2 separate regions of the Homo sapiens genome follow, and region 2 is linked to region 1. The links are contacts of gene promoters, found by promoter capture Hi-C in human tissues and cell types (Jung and others, 2019). All regions are on one chromosome and are shown on one strand. The core of a region is centred on a gene start or on the middle of the fragment in contact, and the rest is flanking DNA. Distances in the headings are between cores, read along the strand shown. Region 1 holds the start of DYNC2H1 (dynein cytoplasmic 2 heavy chain 1). Region 2 overlaps DYNC2H1 (dynein cytoplasmic 2 heavy chain 1).

Region 1 (7,260 bases), core at 2,383-4,882:
GGTGGCTCATTCCTGTAATCTCAGCACTTTAGGAGGCTGAGGTGGGAGGATCACTTGAGCACAGGAGTTTGAGACTACAGCAAGGTATGATCAAGCCACTGCACTCCAGCTTGGGTGACAGAGAAAGACCCTGTCTCTAAAAAGACTTTTTCTTATAAGATCAGTGGTGTATTAATAAATGTGATTTTAAAAATATTATATAAGCAAATGTATCAATATTTGGAAGATCTTCATAGCTTAGGAACCAATACTTTCTAAATGACCAATGTATGATGTTATGAAATTATGTGCGAGCAAAAGATACATTCAAAGTGCTAGAAAACCAATGGATTTTAATGTAACTGAGTATGAAATATTCATTGATCTGGTTCCAAATTCCAAATTTTAACTATCCTTTAAGAAACTACTACTTGTGGAATGTTAGTTTAGTATAAAAGAATATTCACAAGCATCTATTAAAATCTTCATTTTTTAGCTTCTCAATTTTTAAACTACATATCTGTGTGAGGCTGGATATTCTCTATATACTTCAATCCAAACAACGTATTGCAAGAGATGGAATGCAGAAGAACATAGAGGATCCAGTTGTCTTCTGTTAAGGCAGACAGGAAAGGGACTTAACAAAAATGTAAAAACAATGCCATTCTTCTCATCATTTTTTTTTGCCTTTTAGAAATATAATTATTTTCATAAAAATGTTATTTATTTTACCAAGAATGGTCTTATTATGCTTATTTTAAGATAGATAGATATTTCAAAAATTTCTCAGTTTTAATTTTGATTACAATAAATGTTGATAGAAATAAACTACAGAAACAAAATCCTTTTGAAGTCTTCAGTAATTTTTTTTATTTTATTTTTTTTGAGACAGAGTCTTGCTCTGTTACTCAGGTTGGAGTGCAGTGGCACGATCTTGGCTCACTGCAACCTCTGCCTCCCAGGTTCAAGCTATTCTTCTGCCTCAGACTCCCGAGTAGCTGGAATTACAGGTGTGCGCCACTGTGCCCGGCTAATTTTTGAATTTTTAGTAGAGACGGGGTTTCACCATATTGGCCAGGCTGGTCTCAAACTCCTGACCTCATGATCTGCCCGCCTCAGCCTCCCAAAGTGCTGGGATTACAGGCGAGAGCCACTGTGCCTGGCAGTAATTTTTTAAAGTATAAAAATAATTGTTTAAAGTATAAAGTATAAAAAGGTCACCAAAAAGTTTGGGAAATGGCATATAGGACAAAATTAGGAAACCCTGTCTCAGAAAGTTTTGGGCCTTCCCCTTCAGCTCACGTTACCTGTTTTTATGCCACCTGCCAGACAACTGCTAAGACAATGCTCCACATTAAAAAAAAAAATCATTACTACACTATGGATATCAATTACTCTTTTGGTTAGAGTAGCCTAAATTGCCATAAAAATAGCCCACACAGTTTAATGTACAATGCCTCAAACACAACAAAGCTTATTTCTTGCTTATTTAACAACTGCAGACATTATTCCACTCTGTGATTCAGGATCCTAGGGTCCTACTCTTGGAAAGTTTTGCCATCCCTGTTGCTTTATTGTTATCTGCAACCAGCTGGCAAAAGTTAAGGTATTCTCACTTCTTTAAAACTTTGCCTTGAAGACGCACACATTACTTCTTCTCACATTTTATTGGTGAGAATTAGTCACATGACCACACCTGGATGGTAGCCACTTCTTAGCTATGGAAGGGAAAAATAGATTTTGGTGGATATCTGGCTAACACTGTGATATGGTATATAGAGATTGGCTCAGAATTGGATTTTGGTAGGAATCTTGGTTCTACCACTTACCATCTCTGTGTTTTTGTGTAAGTTATTTAATCTGTGAGGTTCTTTCTTCTTTATTGTATGCTTGATACAATACATAAAGTCCGTATCTGTCTTTTCTTCCCACTCTGTGCCTCATTTTTCGTATATAGTAGTGAAAAGGAAACACAAAACTTCTATTTCATGGGGTTTACATGTCAACGGGAGCTTCCATGTTTGAGATCGGTGTTAAACTTGATTCAAACACAATTTCATAGTTTGTGGAAGCCCTAAGTTTCCTGAAGAGTTCTAAAAATTCTTGGGAGGATCACATACTCATGATCTCATCTGCTTTCTAGACTCATCTTCCTACATGTGTTGCCTTTTTATTTACCATATTGTTATGGAAGCTCAATTCAGCCATTTCATACATTTCCACCAAAACAACTCACCAAACCGAGCACTTGTGGGTAATGGAGACTTTCCTGAAGACCTTGGTAAGAGTGATAATGCTCATTGCAGAGCAGGAAACTCTGTAACCATAGTGGTCACTTTGGCTTTCAAAATCTTTTTATTAGCTACACAGTCATCTTGGGTTCCTGTTAGGATTTTTTCCCTCACCCAGTGGTCAGCATCCCACCTCACTGTTTGGATGTTTTCCCATCCAGTGGCCAGACTCCCATCTCTCACTGTTTGGATATTTCATGAGAATTTACATTCATTTCCTTTTATAATTTAGAGCAGTTCAGCTTTTTTAAGTTCCCACTCCAAAATCTTAAGTTGCTCAGCAAATAAAAGGACTCTCTCCTTCCAATTCTCAAATAGTATAGTTTTAAGGGGAGGTTATGATTATTAAGTGCAAACAAAAAAAATCTGCATATGTTTGTGTACCCTAGGATCTTGGGTCAAACCAGTGCTGAGGTGATGAATGACTACAGCAAAAACTTCCTGAGGGCAGGAACTGTGTCCCCAGGGCCTAGTTCGGTACTTGGCAAATTGTGTTAGATTGGTGCAAAAGTAATTACAGTTCTTGCCAAAAAACCGCAATTACGTTTGCACCAACCTAATAGCATGTAGTAAATATTTTTAGAAGAGAATTACTGAATTGAGAAAGTGTTTGACGAATGTTCGGATGAATGACCAGCAATTTAGTAGTTTATAGTAATGCCATGAAGTAGAAAATGACAAAGACCGTTTTCATATCTGTATTTTCACAGAATTTGGTTGCGGTTGTTATAAAATAAACTAAAAAGTATCATTTTACATTTTAGCTATTTTACAAATATGGTTGTGCTCGGGTAATGATTGCAATAAAAAATTGCTGGTTAAATTATTCTAAAATTAATAATAGAAAAAACGATGTTGGGAAATGCAGCAGCACAGAAAGGAGCAGAGGGCGACTGAGAAAGTAAATTAACATTGTATTGAATTCCTAGTCTTTATAAGCTTCTCTAAAAAGCGATTTTTAAATAGTAATCTTTTACAATCCGCACTACACCCCTGGTTGTGAGATAGTATTTCCCCTTCTTAACAGATGTGTACCTTGACGCTGACAGACTGGTTTGCTACCAGGTGCACGTGGAGAGCGAGCACTGGAACCCAGCTCTCCTAAATCTAGATCACGCTGCTGTACTTGAAGGCTAGATGTCTCTCTTCTGATTATGCGTGATAAGAAATCAGTAAGAAGAATAAAAGACATGTTTGAGAGCCAACATAAACTTGTCCGAACCCCTTACAATCGATGACCGCAGGGAGCCGCTGAAGAGCTCCGAGGCGGTCGATAGCCTCCGCGAGCTTTGCGTGCGCGTGCCCCGAGAGGGCAACGCCCACCGCGCGCCGCCAGCGACGCCGCCGTAGTGCTCCGTCGCCATAGCGACTACCCCTGGCAACCGCGAAGCTCTGCGGTCCCGCGGTCGGGCTACGGGTTTGAGCAAAGCTCCTCTCTTCCCTTCACTTCCCTCCGGACTGGTTTCTTCTTCCTTCCCCCTTCCCCCAACTTCCCTCCACCCCTTCCAATCATGGCGAACGGGACTGCGGACGTTCGGAAGCTCTTCATCTTCACTACTACCCAGAATTACTTCGGGTTGATGTCTGAACTCTGGGATCAGCCACTGTTGTGCAACTGTCTTGAAATCAACAACTTCTTGGATGACGGCAACCAGATGCTCCTCAGGGTGCAGCGATCCGACGCAGGAATCTCCTTTTCCAACACGGTACGGTTCCTTGCACTCCTGCCTGACCCCTGACCACTCTTCAAGTCCCCAGGCCCAGCCAGAGGGACGTCGGGTCACACTCTTTAGCTTTACCAACCAGATCCTTTTCAGGAACCCAAGGCTGTCTCCACTTCTCCTGCATTATTGGCTTAGATGCGTTGGCCTCGTGCTTAAGCAGGTAGTTTCCAAGCTTTGCATCCTACCTGACCGAAGCATGTTTCCCTTCCATACATCTGAATAGAAGCAATTAGATTGTGTTTTATTTTAAATTTTTATACGGAGTTTCGTTCTGTCGCTTAGGCTGGATGGAGTGTAGTGGCGCGATCTCTGCTCACTGCGTCCTCCACCTCCTGAGTTCAAGCGATTCTCGTGCCTCAGCCTCCCGAGTAGCAGGCGCGCGCCGCCACGCCTGGCTAATTTTTGTATTTTCAGTAGAGACGGGGGTTTCACCACGTTGGCCATGTGGGTCTCCATCTCCTGACCTCAAGTGATCCGGCCTCCCAAAGTGCTGGGATTGCAAGCATGAGCCACCGCGCCCGGCCTATATTCTACTTTTTAAGAAAGACTGCAGATACGTTATAACTAAAAAGAAAACATTTACTTAGTTATTTTTATTTTTTTCTCTCCCCTTTTTGAGTTTTTTTTTTGGGGGGAAGGCAAATTCTAGTCTATCTTTTTTGGATCAGGCTCTGATTTTAACATTGCCCAAGGGAAAGATTAGTTAGGAATTTAAATTTTTGTGAAATGATATATTTCAAAATAAAGTTTGAATTCTTTTTTGGTGTACATCATGTGATATACTGATTTATTAATTGCACTGCTCCCTCCACTGGCAGGATTGCTTAAAAAATGGGTTGCATTTGCAATCAGGGCTTATATATATAAGCCTAAAAGAAAAACACAGAAGAAAATTGCCTGACACATTAAAGGGGACTCAGTAAATAGATTTAAGTTAATAAAACAAAGACATATTTTAAACCTCTTCCTTTGGTGTTCACCCTTATCCCTAGGTCTAGCAGAGTTTTTGACACTCAGCAAAAACATTCAGTGCCTTTTTTTTTTTTTTTAGACGCAGTTCGCAGTTTCGCTCGTATTACCCAGGCTGGAGTGCAATGGCACAATCTTGGCTCACTGCAACCTCTGCCTCCCGGGTTCAAGCGATTCTCCTGCCACAGCCTCCCAAGTAGCTGGGATTACAGGGCATGTGCCACCACACCCAGCTAATTTTTTGCAATTAGTAGAAATGGGGTTTCACCATGTTGGTCAGGCTGGTCTCGAACTCCTGACCTCAGGTGATCCACCCGCCTTGGCCTCCCAAAGTGCTGGGATTACAGGTGTGTGCCACCGTGCCTGGCTTCAGTGCATTTTTATAGGATGATTGAATCATTCACCCTATTCACTATCTTTATTCTTAGGTTTAATTCGATTGTATTTAATAAACATTTACTTTGAACTCAGTACATGCAAGGCACTTTGCCAGGCATGATGGGTTTACAAAGATATAAAAAGGATGGATAATCATAGCTAACATTTATTTTCACTTTAGACTCTGTCAAGCACTGTTCTAAGTACTTTATATGTATTCGTTCATTTAATAGCCATAACGACATTGTAAGATAGGAACTATTCTTTTTCTTATTTTATGGCTGAGGAAAGTAAGGGACAAAATTTACAACCTAAATGTTAACTTTTCTTTTTCTCCAATAGGTAGCGTAGTTCAGGATAGAGCCCCCTGCTTTCTGCCTTTCCTAGACTCACTCCAGTGGCTTAGGATGACATATACTCAGCAAATGATAAAATCAGGACACACTGTTGTAAATGCCACTGAAAGTTCGGATAGAATGCAGTAGGAAAGATGGAAAGGGGTTTGGATTCGTGAAAGTGTATCTTGGCTTGGGTATTTGAAAGTTGAAGGTAGAACTTTTTTTTTTTAAGTTAAAGCTATTACTAGTAAAGCCCAACGATGTATCTGTTATTTTTAGTTGTACACTTCGCTACAGGTTTTTAGTCATATTTGAAAATATTTTGTTATGTCTTCAGTTGTACTTTAGTTGCCTGATAGTTAGCGTGATTCAATAAGTTAATAAGTCAGCAAATATTTATTGCCTACCTACTAGTACTGGGGACAAAGCCATGAACACAGAGTCCGTATCTTAAAGGAGTAACATTGGAATGGACAAAGGTAGGCTAAACGCATGCTACAGATATATGTAACATAATTTTGGGTATTGATAAGTGCCGTTAAGATAAAAATAATGTTATAGTAGTGATGGGGCAGCGTGGGGAACTAAAGATATATAGGGTGGGAGATAATCCCTCTCTGGATTAGTTATCTTTGAAGCGAGATTTGAATGATGAGTTGCAGGCAGGCATAACCTGGGGGAAGAGTGTTCTAAGCAAAAGAAACTGTAAGTACCAAGGCCCTGAGCTGGGTTTTAACTTAGTTTCCAGGGGCAAGAAAAAAAATCCAGAGTGATTGCTGGAGTTTATGGTATGAAGGAACATTGTGGTAGATGAGAAAGGAGAATAAGGCACAGGCTGATCATTTAGGACACTGTATACCATTTAAATTGAAATAGGAAGTTATTGGTAATCTTAAGCAAGAGAGAGCTGTGATCTGGTTTATGCTTTAGGACAGAGGTTGGCAAAAAGTTTTCTGTAACGGGTCAGATAATATTGCAGGCAACAAGGGCTCCATTAGCAGCTACAACTTGGCCTTTGTAGTGTGAAAGCAGACATGTAATACTTTGTAATAATACATGTAATTGAATGGGAATGGCTATGTTCTAATAAAACTTTATGGACACTGACATGTGGATTTCATATACTTTTCATGTGTCATGAAATGTTATAAGCATTTGAGCAGTAACAAAGTTTCAGCTCCTTTCCAGTGGCCAAAAATGTAATTATTTGGATAGAAATAAGTGGCATGAGACCCATAGCTGTTCTTCCTACACAGCAGTGACCTTGTCTGAAAGCTTTTTAATGTGTAGACTTCTTTTCCTGAAAAAAGAAATGAGAATAACTGAGAATGTGTGTATAATGCAAAAACTTCCTTTGACTAGTATAGTTCTCAGCTAATGAACTCATTACTATGAACTGACCTATTTTAAACAAGATTGCTGTAGTGAATTCCAATTGAGTTCATCTGGTTCCGATTTAAAATAATCTAGCTATATGACAATTTAACAAAGTTTTATGCTCTTAACTCTTTAAGGAAAAATTTTCAGTTAAGATAAAGTTAATTTCAGGAGATAGACAACTTAAGTTCATTTTGGTAGTTT
Region 2 (7,260 bases), core at 2,079-4,578, 50 kb after region 1:
GTTTTGTCTTTTGTGATGGATGCTTTAATTTTTTGCTTTTCTTTTAGAGAGGTAAAAAGCATAAGGCAGAACTTTGTATATATTTTGACCATGTGAACCAGGATACTTAGTATCTTACATGCTTTGATAAAATAACCAGTAATTTTCTTGAGTTGCATGTAAAATAGAGCCACTTAACTTTTTTTTTTTTGCCTTATGGTGAAAAGCCAGATAAAATATATTTTTCATAAAATACTTTTCTATTAATTACTTATGTGAAAATTAATGTTGAAGTAATAAACATGGATATTTTGTGTTAAATAGGATTTAAATAGTCGGGCACAAGGTGAAGTTACAATCAGAGAAGCTTTACGTGAACTTGATCTTTGGGGAGTTGGAGCAGTGTTTACATTAATTGATTATGAAGACAGCCAAAGTCGAACTATGAAGCTGATTAAAGACTGGAAAGATATAGTAAATCAGGTTGGAGATAATAGATGCCTTCTCCAATCCTTAAAGGATTCTCCTTATTATAAAGGATTTGAAGATAAAGTATCAATTTGGGAAAGAAAACTTGCAGAGTTAGATGAATACCTGCAGAATTTAAATCATATTCAGAGAAAGTGGGTGTATTTGGAACCCATTTTCGGCCGTGGAGCATTGCCAAAAGAACAGACACGCTTCAACAGAGTTGATGAAGATTTTAGGTCAGTACAATGATGTAAGACATAGACACATATGGTATTTTTTTTAAATTAATTCATATTGTGAAGTGCTTAATACAGGCAAATTACTTTTACATGATTGGTATCCTCTGTGTATTCAAATTCTTTCCTAGTGGATCCTTTTGAGAAGCTATTCTCTCATTCAAGCATTTACTTCTTGAACCATTATGGTGTGGTCTCTGTTATTACCACTCTACCTAATAATACATACTTCATAAAATCACTAATTACTTTCTCTTTTAAATTCAAAAGGCATTTTCAATTTTTATTTTACTTTATCTCTCATTAGTATTTAATAGAGTTGAGCATTTCTTCTTTCTTAGAAAGTCTCTTCCATTGGCTTCTGTGATTTCGTCCTCTCTTGGTTTTCTGACTGTCTCTCTAGTTCAACACATAGTTCCTAGTCCTTAGCTGTCTCCAAATCTTTAGATGTAGTCATTCTCCAGGCCTCAGCCTTCGATTTTTTTCTCACTGTATTCTCAGGTAATCTTAACCACTGCCAGCATCAGTTCTCTTTTATATGCTGAGGTCTCCTCAACTTACATGTACAGCCCATATTTCTCTTCTGAGCTCCAAATCTACCAAACATGCTCAAATAGTAGGCTAAAACTGAATCCATGAGCTTAATTTACCAGTTCCTTTCCAACAAATCTTTCTTCTTTCTGATTCCTATTTCAATAAATGGCCCAACCTAATTGCTGAAAGCAGAGACATGATGGATAACTTTGATATCTCCCTCTTCCTCCACTTTTACATACATTAAGTTGCCAAATTTTGTTGATTCTAACCTGCTTAGTATATCTTGAGCCAAATACCTGTACAGAAGTATATCTGTACTTCTATTCTAATGTTCTGTATCTCTTACTTGGACTACGCACATTAACCTTCTGACTTGCTCTTGTATAATATAAGTTTTTCACACAACAGCCAGAGTAATTGTTTAAAAATGCAGGTTCAGCACTTTCTTTTACTCCTGTAAATAAAACTTTAAAATAGTTTCCCATTGTGCTAGGGATAAAGCATGATCTGCTCCTTGTTCATTTCTCTATCCTTTTCTTGTGCTGCTCTCCATTTTGCTTTAGTGACTCTAGCTTTTAGTTTCTCGGTCATACCTATCTTCTTCCCAGAATCTTTGCCAGAAACGTCTTCTACTCACTCACTTTTTCATTTTATTCTTCATCTGCATATCAATTTAAATTACTTCCTTAAAGAAGTCCTAGGTTATGGGTTGCCCTGTTAGCCATTTTAACAATACTTTACTTTTCCTTTTTAACATTTATCACAATTTTATTTAAATATTTCTAGAAATTATTTGATGTCTTTTGCTGTCACTGGACCATTAGCTCTATGAGGTAGGGCTTAAAATTAGCTTAGCAAGGCTGGGCATGGTGGCTCACGCCTGTAATCCCAGCACTTTGGGAGGCCGAGGCGGGCGGATCACGAGGTCAGGAGATCGAGACCATCGTGGCTAACACGGTGAAACCCCGTCTCTACTAAAATATACAAAAAAATTAGCTAGGCGCGGTGGCGGGTGCCTGTATTCCCAGCTACTTGGGAGGCTGAGGCAGGTGAATGTCAGGAACCCAGGAGGCGGAGTTTGCAGTGAGCAGAGATTGCGCCACTGCACTCCAGCCTGGGAGACAGAGCGAGACTCCATCTCAAAAAATAAAAAAATTAGCTTAGCAAATGAAATATATAAGATAATTTAAAATATAAGAAGTTAAAAATGATAGTGTGATATTAATATTTAACATTCCTAGAGGTGTAATACTGTTATAATAGTGTTACCTTTAGTTCATTTTAAGCAGGTAAAAAAAGTCTTAATCTGTTTTTCTTACCCCCCCAAATTGTTAAAGTAGATGTGAAGATACTTTTTTTTCTTTTGTAGATCAATAATGACTGATATCAAGAAAGACAATAGAGTCACAACATTAACTACTCATGCTGGAATAAGAAATTCTCTACTAACAATACTTGATCAGCTTCAAAGATGTCAGAAATCATTAAATGAATTTTTGGAGGCATGTTTTTTAAGAAAAAAATATATAATAAATTGTAAAGTACTTGATATCTTAATTATCTGAAAAAAAGAAAGCTATTTTTTGTTTCTATTTTTATTAGGAAAAACGCTCAGCATTCCCAAGATTTTATTTTATTGGTGATGATGACTTATTAGAAATATTGGGCCAGTCTACCAACCCATCAGTGATTCAGTCTCACCTGAAGAAGCTTTTTGCTGGTAGGATTCAACATTTATTTAACAGATATTTATTGAGTTTCAACTGTCTGCCAGGCCTAATATTATGCTCTTAGGTAGACTACTGAATACAGCAGTCAGTTCATATACCCAAATACAGTTCCTGTACCCAAAGAATGTACAGTTTAATGGGAGAGACAAGGTTGTAAGTTGACAAATATAATACAGTGTGACAATTCTGGTGATTGACATAAGTATGTGGTGCTATAGGTCCATCTGTGAGGGCATTTAGCTCAGTTTTAGGGCATCATGAAGTAAGTGACATCTAGGGCGATATCTGAAGAATGTATAGGCCTTAGTTAGAAAAAGGCAGGCAGGCAGTGGGTATAGGCTGTGCAAAGGCCTGTAGTGAAGGAGAATATGCCTCTTCCTTATAGAGTTTAAGGTGTCCTGAATGACATACAGGTGGAGATACTCCATAGGCAGTTATTGTCAGTGAAGAGACCTAGGTGAGAATGTAGGAGTCATCCATATAGAAATAATAGTAAGCTATGGGAACAGGTGAGATTACTTGGGGGAAAACTGTAATGTCAAATGCTTTGATGTTGTAGAGTCACTTTAATGGGATACTTATTAGTGGCAAATGGAATAGGTTTATTACCAAAATAATGACTATTATTTTCTTAAAATACTTAATTTACTTGGAAAGCGCAAGCAAATGACTTCTTCTATAGAGCAAACAGCTCTATAGAAAAGAGCTGTATTTTTCAAATTAAATTTATGAAGTAAAATAATTTTCATCATTTTAACTAATAATCAAGGATCAGCAAAATATAACCCATGGGCCAAAATCTGGCTCACTACTTGTTGTTTTTAAGTAAAGTTTTGTTGAAACATAATCCTGCACGGTAGTTTATGTATTGTTGTCTATACCTTTCATGCTATGAATGCAGAGTTGAGTAGTTGACACTGACCATATGGTCCATTAGACTTAAAATATTTACTCTCTGGTCCTGTACAGAAATATTCATCAATTCCTGTGTATCTGAAGCTTTAGGATGCTTATATTTGTAACTATGATTTGGGCAATGGGAAGTAGTAGAAAACAAACTCTTGCAATCAGAACCCTTTTATTCAACCAATTTCTCTATTGTTTATTAATTGGTTATCAAGTTACCTCTCTGAAATTTAGTTTTTTCTTTATATTGCAAATAATAATATAGTTTTTTTGTGAAGATCAAAATGACATAATATATTCAAGTTTTTTATATACTATAAAGTAATATGCAAATTTGGGGGAAAGGGAAGTCTTATTTGCCTTCAACACATTTACCTGTTCATGGGCATTTGGGTTATTTCCAGTTTTTGGCTATTACGAATAAAGCTGTTGTAAACAATCATACAAGTCTTTTTGTAGACATACATTTTTATTTGTATTGGATAAACACCTAGTTTTGGAATTGCTAAGTCATATAGTAAATATATGTTTAACTTTTTTAGAAACTGCCAAATCATTTTCCAAAGAGGTTATAACATTTTTCACTCCCCCAAGAATGTGAGTTAGGACAATTCTTACTGATTGGTACGTAGTAGTTGATTAGGTTGCCTAAATTTTTTATTCTGGAAAATGGTAGGAATGAATAAACAAACATATATAGAAATATCTAAATAAACATTCACAAATTTCACCAGTGAATCCTGTCACATATAGATAGATATTGATAAGAAATATTTCAGATGAGTGATAAGAATATTGATTCAGAAAGTGATTTTTTTCCCTCAATAGGACATTTAAACACTAGGAGCACTATATATTATGTGGTATACATTATAATTTGATTATTATATATGTTTTAGGGTATATATTAACACTATGTGACACATATTGTATCTAATAATTATGTCTTTAATCCTTTTGCAATTCAATCATTGCTTTTATATTTCAGGTATTAACAGTGTTTGCTTTGATGAGAAATCAAAACATATAACTGCAATGAAATCTTTAGAGGGAGAAGTTGTACCTTTTAAAAATAAAGTTCCTCTATCAAATAATGTAGAGGTAAGCAATTCTTTTTCAAATATGAAAACAAAAAGAATTAACTATATATGAACTTTGTGTCTAAAATAATTTAGTCAATTTAGAGGGTAAAGTTGGTTAATTTAGGTATTTTAGGAAACTCAGCTCATATCTTAAAAATGATTTGTTTTGTTAGTTTCGGAGTATTTTGATATTAAAAAGAATATGGATTTGTAGTCTTTGGAAGGCAGCCTGTAATTATGAAAAGAACCTTGGCCTTGGAGTAAAAAATCTTAGATATTAATCTTAGCTCCACAACTTAATAGCTATGTGACTTACAGTGTTGTTTTTCTAATCAGTAAAATGGTAATCTCAGTACAGGTGGAGTATGTCTTATCCAAAGTATTTGGGACCAGAAGTGTTTCAGATTTCAGATTTTGTTAGATTTTGGACTATTTGCATTATGTCAGTTCAGCATCCCTAATGTGAAAATCCAAAATGCTCCAATAAGTGTTTCCTTTGAGCATCATGTCAACCTCAAAAAGTTTTAGATTTTGGAGGATTTTGGATTTTGGATTTTCGGATTAGGGATGTTCAACCTGTAACTGTTGCAAAGACTTTCAATTAAAAATTAAATGAGATAATTGGCTTTAAGTACACTATTTAGTGCTTGGAACATGGTACTCAATACATTTTAGTTGTCTTTACTCTTTAAAATATGAATTTGTATAAGATGATTTGGGTGAACAAGTAAGCGAACAACTATTGATTAACTGGTTCTGCAGGACTGGAAGTAAACTGATCAAAGGCCTATTATAGGCATATAGCTAAAACTAACTAGCAATAGATTGCATCACATGGAATTGTAACTTTTCAATTTCAAATTATCTTCCACCTGGAAGCCAGGGCCCATGCCTTACCATGTGCATGTCCATACAGCCTAGCAAAATGTTTATTCCTGGTTAGGTTGCAACATTTTATTGGATATTGAGTACATAAATCAGTTGATTGAAAACCTGGGAGATTTGCTAATCATATTTGGTTAAGAGTTTTGTTTTTTTTCCTCTCTTGTAGTTTTGTTGGATATACACAGAGGGACAGAGCTTAAATTTTAGCAACTGGGCTAGAGCAGGTATACCAGCAAAGGAAAAGTTGAAACTCTGGAAGCTTTATGATTGTTAGCAGAGTAGATGTGTCTGTTGCCATGCACTGAGAGGCAGATTCTCACTCTAGCTTCAGTGAATTTTGATGCTATTTTCAATACTGGAGAATGCTCTACAGATTGAAAAAAAAAGCTGGAACACAGAGTTATTTAAGTACGCAATGATGAGAGGCTAAGATTGCAGCTTTTGCCTTTTTATTACAAATGATATATTTTTAAGGTTAAGAAGTGATTCATAAATATTCATTGTTTATCAATCATTGTTATTTTAACTTTTTATTATTTTATATATAATCAAGTGAGTGGAAAAATACATTTTTTTTCACTTTGAAACAAAATTAGTTTTGTTGGATGAAGCAATCTAAGCCCCCAAATAATACATTTCATCCTGATGAAGCAATCCCTTCCTATGGTTACGACTTTATGAATATAAGATCATCAGGATGGCATGAGCCAGGAACTTAGCCAGCCATTTTGACCCTGATTTATTGGCCAAACTATCTGGTTTGATTCATCATAATGATGAAGTGAATGGGTCGACTTTTAAATGCTCATATTATATTGGCTTGTATAGATATAGTCATGGTAGTGTTAGCCACAAATTTATGTTTTCACACTCATCATTATCCTAAGAGGTGAAAAAATTGTTTTATTCAAATTATTTAAACTGTTTATTAAGAAAATAAAGAATTATATTCCTATAACACATTTTAGGAGTGTAATGATCAATAGGAAAGTATAATACCCCGTCTTGAAATAACAGTATAGAGTTAGTAGATTGTATATTTATTTTATGTCTTATATATATTATTTTCCAGTTTATTTTATGTCTTGTTTATATTATTTTCCAATTTCTTTTTCAGACATGGTTGAATGATTTGGCCTTAGAAATGAAGAAAACTTTGGAACAGTTGTTGAAGGAATGTGTTACTACTGGGCGAAGTTCTCAAGGTGCAGTTGACCCATCTCTGTTCCCTTCACAGGTAAGGGGGCTTACGTGTAGAAGCTACATAGGCATGGAACGTGGAAAGATCCCTGACCTAGAAGCCAGGAGGCTCAGATAAATCGCATCTGTTTTCTCCCTTTATCTAACAGTTAACGGACAAATTGCTTAACTTCTGAGTCTCAGTTCCTTCAGCTGTAAAATGTGGGGGATGAATTGAGATCCAAGCAACCTAGG

Evidence for each region. Contacts are between HindIII fragments. The study calls those that stand out against the background at their distance.
Region 2: a contact is called between a fragment that was not itself captured here and the fragment with the promoter of DYNC2H1 in region 1, in 1 of the 25 tissues and cell types used here (H1 embryonic stem cells).

Annotation. Positions count from the first base shown.
Region 1 is chr11:103,105,794-103,113,053 of GRCh38, forward strand. It overlaps DYNC2H1 (dynein cytoplasmic 2 heavy chain 1), which reads left to right and starts at 3,633. Exons shown (of 89, transcript NM_001377.3): 1 at 3,633-3,976. The coding sequence starts at 3,782. RefSeq lists enhancers at 3,226-3,345, 3,416-3,465. The HindIII fragment of the contact is 3,230 bases long and covers 2,331-5,560 here.
Region 2 is chr11:103,156,085-103,163,344 of GRCh38, forward strand. DYNC2H1 (dynein cytoplasmic 2 heavy chain 1) reads left to right here. Exons shown (of 89, transcript NM_001377.3): 26 at 304-686; 27 at 2,593-2,725; 28 at 2,826-2,943; 29 at 4,848-4,960; 30 at 6,944-7,063. Among named protein-coding and RNA genes, the nearest start is that of DYNC2H1, 50 kb to the left of the region's middle. The HindIII fragment of the contact is 3,379 bases long and covers 1,640-5,018 here.